2 separate regions of the Homo sapiens genome follow, and region 2 is linked to region 1. The links are contacts of gene promoters, found by promoter capture Hi-C in human tissues and cell types (Jung and others, 2019). All regions are on one chromosome and are shown on one strand. Each heading gives the region's core, a stretch centred on a gene start or on the middle of the fragment in contact. The rest is flanking DNA. Distances are from core to core; before and after follow the strand shown.

Evidence for each region. Contacts are between HindIII fragments. The study calls those that stand out against the background at their distance.
Region 2: a contact is called between a fragment that was not itself captured here and the fragment with the promoter of AS3MT in region 1, in 1 of the 25 tissues and cell types used here (liver).

What each region holds. Positions count from the first base shown.
Region 1 is chr10:102,868,169-102,870,868 of GRCh38, reverse strand. AS3MT (arsenite methyltransferase) reads right to left here and starts at 1,399. Exons shown (of 11, transcript NM_020682.4): 1 at 1,276-1,399; 2 at 1,024-1,064; 3 at 658-785. The coding sequence starts at 1,276. It overlaps BORCS7-ASMT (BORCS7-ASMT readthrough (NMD candidate)), which reads right to left. Exons shown (of 15, transcript NR_037644.1): 6 at 1,024-1,064; 7 at 658-785. It also overlaps the pseudogene LOC124902567. The HindIII fragment of the contact is 5,936 bases long and covers 1-2,700 here.
Region 2 is chr10:103,030,666-103,033,365 of GRCh38, reverse strand. The region is part of intron 1 of CNNM2 (cyclin and CBS domain divalent metal cation transport mediator 2); the gene reads right to left. Among named protein-coding and RNA genes, the nearest start is that of CNNM2, 110 kb to the right of the region's middle. The HindIII fragment of the contact is 3,923 bases long and covers 1-2,700 here.

The DNA.
Region 1 (2,700 bases), core at 150-2,649:
TTTGGGGAAGAGGCCGCTCAAGGATTAGAGAAGGCTCCATGCAGTAGGTGGGACAGCAGCGTGGTGCTGGATGCGCAGGGTTGGGAAGGAAAAAGAAAAGGGAAGACCTTCCAAATTGGTGACTGCCGGCTGGGCAGGCAGTGCTGATGGAGTGAGGAAGGGAAGGGTCAAAAGGGCCAAGGTTGATTAGTGGGTGCTGAACTGCGCATATCTTGAATGGCAGATCCAGTGAGTGTGACTGTATTCTGTGAGCATGGGTAGGGACTACAGAGTGTTCACGCTGGAGGTTCTTTTTTTTAGGCAATTTTTTTAAAGTACGCATTTATTTTAGAGATGCATCTGGCTATGTTGACCAAGCTGGAGTGCAGTGGCTATTCACATCCCGGATCGCACACTACAGCCTGTAACTTCTGGGCTCACGCGATCCTCTGCCTCAGCCTCCCAAGCACTTGGGACTACAGGCTCACTGGCGCGCCCAGACTCATCGGAGGTTCTTAGAGCAGTAAGATGATGGGTGCTGAGATTTAGGATTTTTACAATAGACAAGGCAAGCTGATGGGTTGGTGGCTACGGGTTAATTCCCTAGTGACCTGCATCATTATCTTTTGGGAAAACTGCTGTTTGGGGTCTTCCTGGGGACAGCACAGGGCACTCTACCTTAGGGCTACTTCTTCGTGTACATTTTGCAAGGCTTCCCGGATGTGCTTGGGGACCGGCCTGGCTGTGGTGACACAGCCGTTGGTCTGGAGGTCTGCCGATCTCTTCAGCACCTGCCCGTAGTAGGTCTGACCCAGCGTCCCACAGTGGAGTGAGGGGTAGAGAGGGAGAAGAGCTGTGACTGCAGCGCGAGGGCTCCGTCACCACCTCCACCTCCACTTGGCCGACCTCAGTTCCCTGGAAAGGTCGAAGCCTAGACCCTGCCCTACCCCGACTCCAGGAGTCCCGGGGGACAGGGTGCGGGCCAGGCCAGACTTCCATTAGCCTAGGCTCCACTTGGGCCATTCCAGGCCCTACAGCTCTCACCTGCACGTCCTTCTGTATCTCAGCGTCACGAAGTGCAGCCACTGTCGGGAGCGGGAAAGTTAGTTGAAAGGAGAGGGTGCTGAGGGACGGGCATGAGGGAGGGGGCCAGTAAAGGGCAGGCAGCGGGCCGAGGGGTGAGGGGAGGACAAAGGTCTCGAGACACAGCTCGGGGGAGGCGCTCGCGTTCCCGCCTTGCGGGGGCCCAGGGAAGGGGCTGGGGGCTGGGGCGGGGCGCCCAGGGCGCGCACTCACTGTCTCCTCGGCCTGCGACTCAGGGCGCGCACTCACTGTCTCCTCGGCCTGCGACTCAGGGCGCGCACTCACTGTCTCCTCGGCCTGCGACTCAGGACGGCGGGCTCCCGCAGCCAGCTCCTGTGCCGAGGCCCCGCCCAGGCTGGCAGGCTTGCTCCGCCCGCCCATCCCGCTCTAGCCCCTCGCTCAGGCGCCCACCGCCTGACCCGCTGTTCCACTGTCATCCGCGCTGCTCTACAGGCTTTCCAACCAGGAGGTCGGTATCAGCATCCCCCTTGTTCGCTCCACTGCGATTTTCACGGATAAATCTCGTACTCTGATTTAAATGAACACTCACCTATATAATGATCTTCCCCCCTCCCCCTTTTTGGGAATAGAATCATCTTTTCTCGATCTGTTTTTTGAAGTCAAGTTTGTTGAGATATAATTCACATTCCGTGAAATCCATCTTTCTTCAGTGTGCAGTTCTGTGAACTCTGGCAAACGTATATACATCACCAAAACGGAGACCAAAATAGCTCTGGCCCACAAGTTTCTTCGTGCCTCTTTGTAGTAAATTCCCTCTTCCCACCCCTAGCTCCTGGGCAACCACAGATGTTTTCCCTCCCTATAGTTCTGCCTTTTCTAGAATGTCACATAGAGGGAACCATTAACAGTATGTAGCTGTTCCCAGTCTATTTTGGGTTGTATTTAGGAAAGCAACTTTGCTAAATTTATTTTCACCTATAGTAATTTTTGGTCAAGTCACATGTATTTTCCAGGTATTGTCACTTCATCTTGCAGAAAGTTTTTTTTTTAATTTTTAAATTTTTTTGAGACGGTCTCTGTTACCCAGGCCCAACCTCCTGGCTCAAGCGATCCTCCCGCCTCAGCCTCCCAAGTACCTTGGATTACAGGCGTGCACCACCACACCTGGTTAATTTTTGTATTTTTTTATAGAGACGGGATTTCACCATGTTGTCCAGGCTGGTCTCCAACTCCTGGGTTCAAGCAATCCGCCCGCCTCAGCCTCCCAAAGTGTTTGGATTACAGGCATGAGCCACAGTGCCAGGCCCAAAAGTATTTTTTGTTTTTTTAAATATGGAACACTTCACGAATTTGTATGTCATCTTGCGCAGGGGCCATGCAAATCTTCTCTATCATTCCAACTATATGTGCTGCCGAAGCGAGCACCCAAAAGTATTTTTAAATTATTTATTTTTACTTCCACAATTATATGTGTATATCTTGTTTCCCTTTGTGGTTGTAACAAGCATTTCTCTTTTTATAATTTAAATTAAAAAAAAATTTTTAGAGACAGGGTCTCAACTCTGTGGCCCAAGCTTAGCGTCACTGCGCAATCATCTCTGGATCCTTCAACTCTGGCCTCAAGCCATCCTCCCTCCTCAGCCTCCCCAGTAGCTGGGACTACAGGTGCAAGCCACC
Region 2 (2,700 bases), core at 5-2,504, 160 kb before region 1:
TACAATAAAATTAAGTGGGCCTGGTGGTGGGCGCCTGTAGTCCCAACTACTCGGGAGGCTGAGGCAGGAGAATTGCTTGAACCTGGGAGGCGGAGGTTGCAGTGAGCTGAGATCATGCCATTGTACTCCAGCCTGTGTGACAAAGCAAGACTCCATCTCAAAAACATAAAAATAAAAATAAAATAAATTTAAAAAATGTATAGAAGACAAAAATTAGTTTTTCTGTTTTTCTTTTCTTTTTTTTTTTTTGGACAGGGTCTTACTCTGTCACTCAGGCTAGAGTGCAGTGGCATGATCATGGCTCACTACAACCTCCACCTCTTGGGTTCATGTGATTCTCCTGCCTCAGCCTCATAAGTAGCTGGGATTACAGGCATGGGTAGCCACATCTGGCTAATTTTTGTATCTTTTGTAGTGACAGGGTTTCACCATGTTGCCCAGGCTGGTCTCAAACTCTTAAGCTCAAGCAATCCATCCACCTCAGCCTCCCAAAGTGTTGGGATTACAGACGTGAGCCACCACACTCAGCTAAGTTTTTATATTTCTATAAGAAAAAAGTCACCACCTAAACATCCACGATAAAGCCCCGTTAAGTAAATTCTACAATATCCACACTAGAATGCTATGCAGCTAGCGTGGATATAGTAGGATTCTATCAGCAATAGAATGCTATGCAGCTATTTAAAAAAAAAAAAAAAAAAAAAGAGCTACATCAATTGTTATGAAAGGCTACTCTAAAAAAAAGTCATGTAGAATATTATAGTATGTTCCCATTTGTATTCATTGTAATTAATTGCATTAATCATAATTATATATAGAAAACTCTAGAAACAAATGTTAACAGTGGCATTCTGGATGAAATTTGCAGTACTGTTAAAAATTTGCATTCTACAGGGTAATTCTTTTTTTCTTTTTGAGATGGAGTCTCACTCTGTCCCCCAGGTTGGAGTGCGGTGGGGTGATCTCGGCTCGCTGCAACCTCCATCTCCCAGGTTCAAGCGATTCTCCTGCCTCAGCCTCCTGAGTAGCTGGAATTACAGATGTGCACCATCACGCCCAGCTGTTTTTTGTCTTTTTTAGTAGAGATGGGGTTTCACCATGTTGGCCAGGCTGGTCTTGAACTCCTGACCTCAGGTGATCCACCTGCCTCGGCCTCCCAAAGTGCTGGGATTACAGGCATGAGTCACCGTACCCGGCCCCTAATGTATATATTTCTAACAAGAGAAAATGTGTATTTCAACCAGGGATCAAGGGGAATAGGGTCCTCTGACAGTGTTGGACACCTCTAAAAAGCCACTTCCAACCCCCTAGGCCCCAGTGCTCACTCCCTCCACTGCCGCAGTGACTAGTTCACGCAGGCTTGCAGTGGCTTCATGCTCGTGCATCAGTGCAGGCAGACACTGCCTCATTGCTAATGCTCAATATTTCACTTCCTGCCTTAGGATTTCTCTTGAAACTTATTCTGCAGTTATGCATATGCAAACAAGAGGGAGAAATCAACGGGATAAATCCCCTCACGCCCCCCCCGCATTTTGTACTTAAGCAGACAGTTCTGAGAGCATTCCATTCCATAGGTTCCTAAAAAGGTTCTAGTGGAATTGAACACCTGCTGCCTAGGCGCTATCAGATCCTTAAATTTTCTTTCCCTCCTTCTCATTTCACTTTCCTTGTCCTGAACTCCTGCTTCCTGGGACTGCACTCCATATAAACTTCCCTGCATGCAAGTCTTTCTACCAGGCTGATGTTCAGGCTAAGACATCGGGTGAGTGGAAAGTTTTTCCACCAGCCACTTTTTGGTTTCACACATTTCATGCTCTTCTACTTGCAGATTCCAGTGCCAGATGTGTTAGAACACACTCCTGTCTCAATACAATGCAGGGCTTGTACCTTTGAGTGACATCCACATTGTTGGATATCATTTATGCAGTGAGATGGCCACCAATAACTATACATCAAAGTGACTGCAACCACAGAGATATATCCCAGTAAACTCAAACAAAGTGTATATCCACAGCTTAACTTTCCCACAGCTGAATCCCAAAAATGCTTGGGACCACTCCAACATTGCCACACACAAGAGTAAGAGAGGGTAACTCAATGTGGAAAGAGTAATTTTGGCCCACAGTAAACTTTCCGATTTTTCAAAATTTACAAATACACATAAACATGTAAAACTTGCTAGGGGTCTTCCCAGGGCCTTGGAAGCAGCCCACACATCTGAGCACTTAAGCTTTAGCTTCATTAGCTTTGTGGTAATATGCTTTTCACGATGCACTAATTGAGTAACTACAACAAAGGGAGCATAAAGCACAGACTGAAAACCCTAAAATCTACATACTCCACCATCCCAGTCTCATCTAAACCTCAGATATAAAAATATTCCATCTGTCCATCTGGTCCTCCTCCTCCTCTTGTCCAATAAGCATCTTAAGTTCAACATGTCCAAAACTAAACCTATCATCTTCTTCACAAAACCTGTTTCCCTGCTTCTAATCCTTATACTAATGACATCTGTAAAGGTCAAATGTGAAACTGTGAAAGTCAACTTAGATGCCTCTTTTCCCTCTAGTTTCATCCGGCTATGACATATTGGTACCTAACATTGTGTTAGGTTCTAAATTTAAGACTGCCTCCTAAATATCGACTTCCCCCCCTGCCAAGAGGGAGCCTCACTCTGTTGCCCAGGCTGGAGTGCAGTGG